Linked DNA regions of Homo sapiens: region 1 is linked to region 2. Evidence: promoter capture Hi-C in human tissues and cell types (Jung and others, 2019). All regions are on one chromosome and are shown on one strand. The core of a region is centred on a gene start or on the middle of the fragment in contact, and the rest is flanking DNA. Distances in the headings are between cores, read along the strand shown.

What was found. The method cuts DNA at HindIII sites, captures the fragments that hold promoters and counts their contacts. A contact is called where the count stands out against the background at its distance.
Region 1: a fragment that was not itself captured here is called in contact with the fragment with the promoter of ADAM32 in region 2 in 1 of the 25 tissues and cell types used here (dorsolateral prefrontal cortex).

The regions. Positions count from the first base shown.
Region 1 is chr8:39,249,779-39,256,716 of GRCh38, forward strand. ADAM32 (ADAM metallopeptidase domain 32) reads left to right here. Exons shown (of 25, transcript NM_145004.7): 18 at 4,636-4,738. Among named protein-coding and RNA genes, the nearest start is that of ADAM32, 150 kb to the left of the region's middle. The HindIII fragment of the contact is 4,346 bases long and covers 3,061-6,938 here.
Region 2 is chr8:39,105,338-39,111,433 of GRCh38, forward strand. ADAM32 (ADAM metallopeptidase domain 32) reads left to right here and starts at 2,397. Exons shown (of 25, transcript NM_145004.7): 1 at 2,397-2,496. The coding sequence starts at 2,439. The HindIII fragment of the contact is 10,909 bases long and covers 1-6,096 here.

The DNA.
Region 1 (6,938 bases), core at 3,984-6,483, 150 kb after region 2:
TGACATTTATTTCAAAGGCATGTCTACTGGTGATATATACTCTCAATTTTTGCTTGTTTGAGAGTCTTTATTTCATTTCCATTTTTGCAAGATAATTTCAAAGGATTAAATATTTCACTCCTCACTCTTTTTGCTTGCATGGTTGCTGAAGAGAAGTCCAGTATAATTTTTATCTTTGTGCCTCTATAGATATGGTATTTTCTCCCTCTGGCTTCTTTCCAAATTTGTCTTTATCTTTGATTTTCTGTAGTTTGAAAGTTATTATGTCTAGGTATAAATTTTTGGCATTTGTCCTGATTTTTTTGTGGTAGGGGTTGCTTGATCTGTGATTTGTTGTGAGACATTAATTTTGGAAAATTATCAGCTATTATTGCTTCAAATATTTCTTCTATTCCATTCTTTTTTGTTCTCTTGGTATCCTCATTACATGTATGTTATACATTTTTTTAGTTGTCCCACAGTTCTTGGATATTCTGTTCTGTTTTTTCAACCTTTTTTTTTTGACTTTTTAGTTTTAGAAGTTTCTATTGAGACACCCTCAAGCTCAGAGATCTTTTCTCATCTCAGCCATAATTATTCTATTTACGGGCCCATCAAAAGCATTCTTCATTTCTGTTGCAGTGTTTTTGATCTCTAGTACTTCTTTTTGATTCTTTCTTAGAATTTTTATCTGTCTGCCTACACTGCCCATCTGTTCTTACATGTAGTCTACTTTATCCATTAGAGCTTTCAGCATATGAAGTATAATTGTTTTATTTATTTATTTTAGTTTTATTTTTTATTGGCAATAGTTGTACCTGTTGTGGGGGTATAAATGATAATACATTCATATAATTCATAAAAATCAAATCAGTATAATTAAGATATCCATCACTTTACATATTTGTCTTTATGCTAAAACATTTGAATTTATTTTTCTAGCTATTTTTGAAATATACAATAGGTTATTTTAAACTCTGGTCATCCTACTGATCTGTCAAACACTTGGTCTTACTTCTTCTTTCAAACTGGATATTTGTACCTATTAATCAACCTCTCTTCATCCTTTCCTCCCATTACACATTCTGGCCTCTGGTAACCACCCACCTACTCTGCATCTTCATGAATCCACTTTTTTAGCTTCCACATAAGAGTGAGAACATGTGATATTTATCTTTCTGTGCTTATCCTATTTCATTTAACATAATAACTTCCAGTTCCATCCATGTTGCTATGAGTGATGGGATTTCATTATTTTTATAGCCTATGTTTTACATTGTGTATGTATCTCACATTTTCTTTATTTATTCATCTATTCATGGACGCTTACATTGATTCTATATTTTGGCTATTGTGAATAGTGCTACAATAAACATGGGAATGCAGATAGCATTTTGAAGTATTGATTTCCATTCTTTTGGTTATTTACTCAGTAGTAGAATTGCTGGGTCATATAGTAGTTCTATTTTTAGTTTTTTTGAGGAATCTCCACACAATTTTTTATAGTGGCTGTACTAATTTACATTCCCACCTATAGTGTGTGAGTCTTTCCTTTTCTCCACAGCCTCGCCAGCATTGGCTGTTCCATCTTTTTTTATCAAAAAGATGGTCTTTTTGTTACAAAAAAAAAATGGCTTTTATAAGCCATTTTAACTGGATTGAGATTATATCTCATAATTCTGATTTGCATCTCTCTCATAATTAGTGATGTTGAACATTTTTTCATATACCTGTTGGCCATTTGTTTGTTTTATTTTGAGAAATGTCTATTCAGATCTTTTGCCCATTTTTTTAATCATATACTTTGTGGAGTTTTTTCCTATTGAGTTATTTGAGCTCCTTATATATTATGATTGTCAGTCCCTTGTCAGATGGATAGTTTGGAAATATTTTCTTTTATTCTGTGGGTTGTCTCTTCACTTTGTTGATTGCTTCTTTTGCTGTGTAGAAGCTTTTTAGCTTGGTGTAATCCCATTTGTTTATTTTTGCTTATGTTTCCTGTGCTTTTGAGGTTATATCCAAAAAATAATTACATAATCAGTGTCTTAGAACTATTTTCCTACATTTTCTCCTGGTAATTTTATAGTTTTGGTTCTTAGATTTAAGTCTTGAATACATTTTGATTTTATTTTTGTACACAGTGAAAGATAATGATCAAGTTTTATTCTTCTGCATATGGTTATCGAATTTTTCCAGCACCATCTATTGAAGAGACTGTTCTTTCTCTGTTGTACATTCTTGGTGCCTTTGTTGAAAATGAATTGGTGTAAATGCATGTATTTGTAGCCGGATTCTTTATTCTGTTCCATTGGTCTATGTGTTTGATTTTATGCCAGTACCATGGTGATTTGGTTACTATAGCTCTGTAGTATAACTTGAAGTCAGATAATGTTATGCATTTGGCTTTGTTCTTTTTGCTCAGAATTGCTGACCACATATTAAGTCACGAGACAAGTCTTAACAAATTTAAGAAGACTGACATCACTCCAAGTGTATTTTCTGACCACACTAGATTGAAGCTAGAAGTTAATATTAAAAGAAAGTGGGAAAACTTAAAAAATACATGAAAATTAAATAACACATGAGTGAACAACCATTGGGCTAAACAACAAATCAAAACGGAAATTAGAAAATATCTCAAGACAAACAAAAAATGAAAAAAAAAAGGGATGTGGCAAAAACAGTACTAAAGGGAAATTTATAGTGATAAATTCTTACATTAAAAAGAATAAAGATTTCAAATAAACATTCTAACTTTACACCTCAAGAAACTAGAAAAAAATTGAACAAACTCCAAGTTTGCAGTAGGAAGTTATGAAGATTAGAGCACAAATAAGATAGAGAATAGAAAAATAATAGACAAAATCAAGGAAATTAAGAGTTGAGTTTTTGAAAAGATTAAAAAAAGGACAAACTCTTAGGTAAAATAGCAAGAAAAAAAGAAATAAGACTCAAAATCAGAAATGAAGGAGCAGATATTACAACTGATGTCACAGAAATTTTTTAAGAAGATACTGTGGTGTATATTTATACACCAACAAGTTGGATAACCTAGAAGAAATTTATAAATTCCTAGGATGATACAACCTGCCAAGACTGAATCAAGAATAAATAGCCTGAACAGAACAATAACAAATAAAGAGATTAAATCAGTAAACAAAACTTTCTAGCGAAGAAAATCTCAGGACTAGGGGGCTTCACAAATGAATTCTGTTAAACATTTACAGAAGAATTAAACAAGAAAATAAAATTGCAGGCTAATATATCTACAAACATGCATGCAAAAATTTACAGCAAGACATTAACAAACTATATTTGCCGCACGTTAAAAGAATCATACACTATGACCAGATGGGATTTATTCCTGGGATGCAAGGATGGTTCAAAATGCACAGATCAATTAATGAGATATGCCACATTAAGAAGATGAAAGATCAATTTACTTTATGACATTAAGATGCAGAAAAAGCATTTGACAAAATCCAACACCCTTTCATTATAAAAACTCAATACGTTAGGAATAGCAGAAAGCCTACATGTAAAAATCCATAGCTAAAATTATACTCAATGGTGAAATAATGAACGCCTTTACTTTAAGATCTATAACAATGCAAGGATACTCAGTCTCTGCACTTCTCTTCAACTTGGTACTGGAATTCCTAGATGAAGCAATGAGGCAAGGAAAAGAAATAAATAGCATCCAAATGGGAAAGTAGAAATAAAGTAGCTTCTGTTTGCAAATGCCATGATTGTATACACAGGAAACCATAAAGGTTCCATAAAACTAGTAGAAGAAATAATGAATTCAGTAAAGTTGCAGGACACAAAAACAACACTCAAAAATCAGTTCATTTTTATACGTCAAAAACAGACGGTCAGGAAAGGAGATTAGTTAAACAATCCCATTTACAACAGCATCAAAAAGAATAAAATACTTAGGTTTAAAACAAACCAAGGAGGTGAACGACTTGTACACTGAAAACTATGAAACATGAAAAAAAGTAAAAGAGACACAAAAAATTGAAAGATATTCCACGGATTGAAGAAACTAATATTGTTAAACTATCCCTAATAGTCAAAATTATCTACAGATTCCATGCAATCCTTATCAGAATCTCCATGTTATTTTTCAAAGAAATAGAAAATAAAAAAATTATATAAGATGAAAAAAATCCAGATAATTAGAAGCAATTTTTAAAAAGAAGAACAAAGCTTTTCAAAATACAGTACAAAGGTACAGTAACCAGAACAGGATGTTACTGTCATAAAATAGAGACATATAAAGCGATGGATGAAAATAGCTCAAAGATAGACTCATATATGCTGGCTCCAGCATGTCACTGGAGGGGTCACATTTTCATTATAATTTAAGTATGCATTTTTGAAATTGCATCGTAAATTTGTAGGTAAACATTTCAAGGTGTCAAATTTTCTTGATGCAAATATTGAGAGCCTCACTTTATAGTTCTTTTTTTTTTTTTTTTGCTTTGTGTGTGTGTCTGTGTTGTAGTCTAAGAAACCAAACATTTGATATGTGAGACTGTCGCTCTAAATAAACAAAATTACACTAGATTATGGTACAAAAGTAAGCTTGATGCTCACCTTCTCTGAGAAAATATTTTAAAACAATCATTTAATTTTTCAAAATGATCCTAGGTGTGTGATTCCAGAAACAAGTGCCATTGTTCGCCAGGCTATAAGCCTCCAAACTGCCAAATACGTTCCAAAGGATTTTCCATATTTCCTGAGGAAGATATGGGCAAGTATTTGTCTCTTTAAATACCCATTTAATAAAATTCTCAAATTGCTTATCTTCACTAAAACAAAGTTCGATTTTTCCACTTACAAGGCAACTGATATTTGTAATAAAAAGGTAATCAGAATTCTCTCAAGGAATGGAAACCAAACATGCCATCTTAATCTTGCTCTCTTTTCTTTATAATTAACTAATCAATTAATTTTTTTTATTTCAATAGGTTTTTGAGGAATAGGTGGATTTTGGTAACATGGATAAGTTCTTTAGTGGTGATTTCTGAGATTTTGGTGCAGCCATCACCCAAGCAGTGTATACTGTACCCAATGTGTAGTCTTTTATACCTCACCTACTCCTATCCTTCCCCTCAATACCCCAAAGTCCATTGTATCATTCTTATGCCTTTGTGTCCTCATAGCTTAGCTCCCACTTATGAGTGAGAACATATGATATTTGGTTTTCCATTCTTCAAGTGAAGAGTTACTTCACTTAGAATAATGGTCTCAAACTCCATCCAGGTTGCTGCGAATGCTATTATTTTGTTCCTTTTAATGGCTGAGTAGTATTCCATGGTGTATATATACATCACACTTTCTTTATTCACTCACTGATTGATGGGCATTTGGGCTGGTTCCATATTTTTGCAGTTGCAAATTGTGCTGCTATAAACATTTGTGTTAGCGTCTTTTTATGTAATGACTTTTATATAATGACTTCCTCTGGGTAGATTTCCAATAGTGGGATTGCTGGATCAAATGGTAGATCTACTTTTGGTTCTTCAAGAAATTGCCATACTGTTTTTCGTAGTGGCTGTGCTAGTTTACATTCCCACCAACAACGTAAAAGTGCTCCCCTTTAAGCACATCCATGCCAACATCTATTATTTTTTGATTTTTAAATTATGACCATTCTTGCAGGAGTAAGGTGGTATTGCATTGTGGTTTTGATTTACATTTCCCTGATCATTAGTGATGTTGAGCATTTTTTCATATGTTTGTTGGCCATTTGTATATCTTCTTTTGAGAGTTACCTATTCATGTCCTTAGCCCATGTTTTGATGGAATTCCTTTTTTTCTTGCTGATTTGTTTGGGTTCCTTATAGATTCTGGATATTAGTTCTTTGTCAGATGCATAGTTTGTGAAGATTTCCTCCCACTCTGTGGGTTATCTGTTTACTCTGCTGATTATATCTTTTGCTTCGCAGAAGCTTTTAAATTTAATTAAGTCCCTTCTATTTATCTTTGTTTTTATTGCATTTGTTTTTGGGTTCTTGCTCATGAACGCTTTGCCTAAGCCAATGTCTAGAATAGTTTCCTGATGTTATATTCTAGAATTTTTATGGTTTCAGGTCTTAAATTTAAGTCTTTGATCCCTCTTGAGTTGATGTTTGTATAAGGTGAGAGATGAGGATCTGGTTTAATTCTTCTACATATGGCTTGCCAGTTATCCCAGTGCCATTTGTTGAATAGGGTGTCCTTTCCCCATGTTATGTTTTTGTTTGCTTTGTTGAAGATCAGTTGGCTGTACGTACTTGGCTTTATTTCTGGATTCCCTATTCCATTCCATTGGTCTCTGTGTCTATTTTTATATCAGTACCATGCTGTTTTGGTGACTTTAGCCTTATTGTCTATGGCCATACCAGCCTGAATGTGCCCGATCTTGTCTTGCTCTTTTTTCTAACATTAAAATATCATAATTCACGCTGAATACCTTTTAAAATTTCTCTTTACTGATATCATTGACTTTATCTTTTAGAATATTTTCAACCTCTCTTCCTCAGCTTTATGACTGATCCTGTGACCTCAGCTCTAAACAAATGACATTTTCTCTGTGTCTAGTACTGTTACTGTGTTTCTGTTACAGAAGAAATGAAATAGAAGACAAGATTTTACTCTGAAGGAGTTTATCATTTAAATCAGAAAAATCCATCAATTTCTGCTTAGGAGATGACAGAAGTGATGCTGGCATATTATTCTGTTTGTGCCCCACAGCTTCCATTTCTGTCATTAATTCATTTATTGAGTTAGCAAATGTTTACTGAACTCTTAATATATGCCAGGTCCAGGTGCTGGTCTACACACTGGGGATGTACGGTGAGCAAAATGAAGTTCTTCTCCTCATGGAGTTTAGAGAATATGTTTAGGTCTATGTATCCAGTGATAGCAAGGGACAGAATTAGGATTAGGAATCAATTCTTCTAATTTTT
Region 2 (6,096 bases), core at 1,147-3,646:
AGCCTCAGTTTTTGCAATTGTGATGCATATCACTGAAATTTTACAGTTGGTAATGTATTAACTATGTAACTTAACACTTGGAATTAAATAGTTCTTTGGATATTTGACTAGTTAAGTTTTTAAAAAGACTATTGGATCTGAACTTCTTTTATATATTTTTTAATATGCTTTATGTTTTTTACTTACTTGGTCATGGATGCCACTTCAAAATTTGAAAATATTAAAGGACATCCTTTCTTTCTTCAAAAAGAATAAATAAGGGTAAATTATATGCAAGTTTGACATCTCTGTTTGACTCTGTATGTCAAACTGACCTTGTTCAGAGTATTGCATTCTCGCTTTCTCCTGTGTCTGTAACCATAGAGTTAAGCACAATTTGGGTTTTCTAAACTCAAATCAGATTTTATTAAATTTCATAAATGTTTACTAAAACCTACCATTTTTCAGGCACTGTATTAGGTACTGTGATATCTAAGTTCTGGATAGGATATGTTTCCCGACTTTTAGAAGTGCATCCTCTGTTATGAAGAGAGGCATACACACAAGAATAATACAAAATCAACCCTATTAAAGATACAAACCAGAAAGGTTGAGGAGTAAGAAAGAACAAAATAATACAAGAGCCAGAAATTCATTCAGAATACTTACCACTAATTGATGAGTTGAAGCATTTACTGTAATTGCTCTTCTGTTTGTTACAAAGCAAGGTGAAACTAGCTGTGGCTCAGCAGCTGCCTAAAAGCAGTGTTAGCTTAGCATTGGCTGTTCCTATTGAGATACAAGCTCAGTGTATTTTTTTGTTGCCTTGTTCCCCACCCCACCCCTCCACCTGCCCCAGATGGAGTTTTGCTCGTCACCCAGGCTGGAGGGCAATGGCACAATCTCGGCTCACTGCAACCTCCACTTCCTGGGCTCAAGCGATTCTCCTTCCTCAGCCTCCCCAAGTGCTGGGATTACAGGCGCCCACAACCATGCCCGGCTAATTTTTGTATTTTTTAGTAGAAACGGGGTTTCACCATGTTGACCAGGCTGGTTTCAAACTCCTGACCTCTGGTGATCCAACCACCTCGGCCTCCCTAAGTGCTGGGATTACAGGCGTGAGCCACCTCACCTGGCCTGTTGCCTTGTTTTTGTTCATGCTATTAATTTCAGGTGTAGATTGCCCTGTTGAAATTGCGTGCATCCATAAAAATCACATCTTCACTTTAAATGTCTTAGTTCCCCAAGTGAGATTTTTCTCTGTTCCCATGAGGCCTTTTAGTTTATGTGTTGGCCTATTATGTAGTATGAGAAATTAATCCATTCTTTGGGATTTGAAAAGAATGAAAAGCTAATGCATACAGATGGAGACCAGGTGTGAGGCTGGGAAGGAGGAGGCATTGCAGTTCCAGGGAGTAAAGCAGTGTTTAGGAAAAACCCAAAGTCAGAGCTGCTAAAACACGGGATAGGAGAAATTAAGTGGCAGGTTCCGGTCTGAGTTCAGAAAAATTACTATGCTGAGGCTAGAATTTTCTACTGGAATGTAATTACTGTAATTGTGGGCAAGAATCTCTAAATCTTTCACTACATGAAATAAGTATTTATTGCACTGAGAAGTTTCTGAACAATAGAATGACATCACATGAGTTTTAGCCAATGGCCTGCGGAGAACCAGATTGGAGGAAAAAGCCTGGTTGTGAAGTCCATTTGGGCAGCGTCAGTGGGGAAAAAAATGCAGCTGGCGCTCTTCAAAAATATGAAGAGCTGGCATTTCATATTGAAAAGCGGCTCACTTTTCCCTTCTTTGGAATGTTCACACATCTGGCTAAATAGTTTTGAAAAAATATTAGAAACAGGTTTGGCAAATATGAATATATATTTAGGTGTGTATATAGATTTTAATTCAGAAAGTATTACACATTCGCTTTTGAAAGGACCTAGGAAGCCCCGAACGGTGGCAGATGCCTGTAATCCCAGCTACTCAGGAAGTTGAGGAGGGAGGATCACTTGAACCCAGGAGTTCGAGACCAGCCTGGGCAGAATAGTGAGCACCCCCGTCCCAAAAAGAAAAAAAAGCAACTGGGAAGTGTCTGGTGCAGGAGAGCACACGCTGACTGTGAATAAGTGTGTCAGTTCTTAAGGTCCAGCAACACAAAGCGAAAAGTTAGTGGAGGACTACGAGCGCGATCTCGACAGAGGGCGCTGGGTGGTCAGTGGCTCCAGCAACCACGCGGCTGGGGTGCGCCGGGAAGGGAGCTGGATGTTTTAGCCTCGGGGCGCACGCTGCGGGCCCTTCGTGTTCCGGACGCTAAACACCGAGAGCACCCCGTCTCCGGGGCCTCCGGAGAACGCTGTCCCATGAACGTGCGGGGAGCGGCCCCCGGCGTCCGCGCGTCCCCGCGTCCCTGGCAATTCCCGACTTCCCAACGGCTTCCCGCTGGCAGCCCCGAAGCCGCACCATGTTCCGCCTCTGGTTGCTGCTGGCCGGGCTCTGCGGCCTCCTGGCGTCAAGACCCGGTGAGCCAGCCCAGACCCTGACACTAGTCCGGGCGCTCGTCACACTGCGGCCCGACTCCCTGCAAAGCCCGGGGCCCTCCCTGTCTGGGTCCCTTTGGTCCTGTCACCCTGGCAACGGGGCCTTTTCCAGGGGATTAGGCGCCCCGTCCGGATGGAGAAGCGACTCAGGGCCCAGCACCAGGGCTCACGCCTGTAATCCCAGGGCTTTGAGAGACTGAGGCGAGCTGATTGTTTGACCTCGGAGTTGGAGACCAGCTTGGGCAACACAGCAAGACCCCATCTCTACAAAAAAATTTAAAAAAATGTTCCGAGGTGGTGGTGCGCACCTGTGATCCCAGCTACCCGGGAGGCTGAGGGAGGAGGACCACGTGAGTCCAGGAGGTGGAGGCTGCAGTGAGCCAAGATCGCCCCCACTGGACTCCAGCCTGGGCGACAGAGATCCTGTCTTTTTTATAAATTAAAAAAATTATTTTTGTGTGTGACCGAGTCCCTTCTGTCGCCCAGGCTGGAGTGCAGTGGGCAACAGTAGGCAACAGAGGGAGACTCCAGATCGTAGTTCTCCAGAACTATGAGGAAAATAAATTTCTGTTGTTTAAGCCATGCAGTCTACACTATTTTGTTATGGCAGTGGGAGCTGACTAATATAGTACTTAACAGCAAAATGATTGAAAAACTGTAAAAGTTCATTAGTAAGAGAACTGCTAAATAAACTGTGGTTATCTCCAAACAATGCAAATGGACCACTGTGGAGAGGGAGGAAGTAAGACATGCCATGTACTGACTCTGGCTGACAAGATTCAGAATAGTATGTAATAAGAGAAGGAAAAAAATACGGGCATATCCAAACATTTTACTTGCATGTAAGCCTCCCTGGTGATACTGTAAATTTTTGAGAACTCTTCCTACTCTTCTTCCTATCCTGCCATAATTACCTCTGCAGCATAGCAGAGGTGTGGTCAAGGCCAGGGTGTCAGCCTGGTTAGATTAGGGTGAGTGTTCTCTTCCTGGCTTGTAAACAGCTACCTTCTCCCTGCGTACTCACAGGACCTTTTCTTTGTGTACAGGGAAAGACAGGAGGAGGAAATTCTCTGATGTCTCATCTTATAAGGGCATGAATCTCATCATGAGGGTCCCACTCTATGCCTAAAACCCTGATTACCTCCCAAAGGCCATAACCAAATACTGTCACATTGGGGGTTAGGGATTCAACATAGAATTTTGTGGGATACATTCAGTTCATAACACATACAAAATTTTAATGCAGTGGTTGTCAAAGTTTTTGGGTTCAGAACTGCCTTATACATGAACAATTTTTGAGATTCTCAAAGAGCTTTTGTTTATGTGGATTTATATCGATGTTTAACATATTAGAAATTAAAATAGAAATGTAAGAATGTGTATTTCATTCATTAAAAATAAAAGTAACGGCCAGGCGTGGTGGCTCACGCCTGTAATCCCAGCACTTTGGGAGGCTGAGGCAGGTGGATCACCTGAGTGAGGTCAGGAGTTTGAAATCAGCCTGGCCAACATGGTGAAACCCCATTGCTACTAAAATACAAAAAAATTAGCTGGGCGTGGTGGTGCGTGCCTGTAATCCCAGCTACTCGGGAAGCTGAGGCAGGAGAATCGGTTGAACCCAGGAGGCAGGAGTTGCAGTGAGCTGAGATGGCACCATCGCACTCCAGCCTGGGTGACAAGAGCAAAACTCCATCTCAAAAAATAAAATAAAAAAAAAATATTAATGAACATTATTTTTTAGAGTACGTTTAGGTTCATAGCAAAATTGAGCTGAAAGAGTTCCCATATAGCCCCTGATCCCAAATATGAACAGCTTCTCCCACTATCAACATCTGGCACCATGGGATCCATTTGTTACAATTGAGCCTACACTGACACATTGTTATCATCCAAAGTCCACAGTTTGTTTGCATTAGGGTTCATTCTCCACATTGCCCATTCTATGGTTTTGACAAATGTACAATGACATGCATCCACCATTGTAGTATTATACAGAATAGTTTCACTGCCCTACAAATCCCATGTGTTCTGCTTATTTATCCCTCCCTCCCCACTGCCCCTGGCAACAACTCATCTCCTTAGTCTTCTTAGTTTTGCCTTTTCCAGAGTGTCATGTATTTGAAATCATATGTAGCCATTTTGGATGGACTTTTTTTTTACTTAATAATATGCATTTAAGGTTCTCCCATGCCTTTTCATGGCTTGATAGCTTATTTACTTACTTAATTGTTTTTTTGAGATGGTGTCTTACTCTGTCGCCCAGGCTGGAGTGCAGTGGCAGGATCTTGGCTCACTGCAAACTCCGCCTCCCGGTTCAAGCAATTTTCCTGCCTCAGCCTCCCAAATAGCTGGGATTACAGGTGCCTGCTACCATGCCCAGCTAATTTTTTTGTATTTTTAGTAGAGATGGGGTTTCACTGTGTTGACCAGGCTGGTTTCGAACTCCTGACTTCAAGTGATCCACCCACCTTGGCCTCCCAAAGTGCTAGGATTACAGGCATGAGCCGCTGCACCCGGCCGCTTTTTTATTTTTAGTGCTGAATAATATTCAATTGTCTGGATCTACCACAGTTTATTTATCCATTTACCTACCAAATGACATCTTGGTTGCTTCTAAGCTTTGGCAGTTATGAATAAAGCTGCTATAAACATCTATGTGCAGGTTTTTGTGTGGACATAAGTTTTCAACTCATTTGGGTAAATACCAAGAAATGCTATTGCTGAATCATATGATAAGAGTATATTTAGTTTTTAAAGAAACTGCCAAGCTGTCTTCCAAAGTGGCTGTACCATTTGCATTCACCCCAGCAATGAATGAGAACTTCTTTTATTAATGCTGTCATATTATAAATTATATGCATAACTACAAGTGCAAGAAATCCTGGCTGTCTTTTTTATTATAACTCAGAAGAGAGAATTTAAACTTTCAAATGAAAATGCCAGCTCCAAACTGCTGATGGTCCCATCAGCTGAGGGATCTTGCTCAGCAATTTGGGGATGGCATTTTCACATTAAGCAGTCACTCCTCATGTCCTCCTGCTTCCAGCCCCTGGCAGCCACTGATCTGCTTTGGATTTATCTGGCAGCCACTGTCCCTTTGGATTTATCTATTCTGGGTATTTCGTATAAATGGAATCATACAAAATATGACCTTTTTTGTCTGGCTTAATTCACTTGCATAATGTTTTCAAGGTTCGTCTCTGTTGTAGAATGCATTAGAACTTCATTCCTTTTTGTGACTGAATAATATTTCATTGTATATATTCACCCGTTTGTTTACTGATTCATCAGTTGATGGACATTTGATTGTTTCCAACTTTTGGCTGTTAGGAGTAATGCTGCTAGGAACCTTCATGTACCAGTTTTTGTGTGGACATATGTTTTCATTTCTCTTGGATATGTACTTACAAAGAAACTGTTAGGCTCAGTGGTATAGGTATGTCCATTTCCTCTTCTGGACTTTGTTATCCCCCAATAATGAGTTGGCTATTCTGGGTCTTTTACCTCCTCATGTAAACAGTAGAATATGTTGGTTGATATCCACAAAATAGCTTGCTTAGATTTTGATTAGGATAGTCTTGA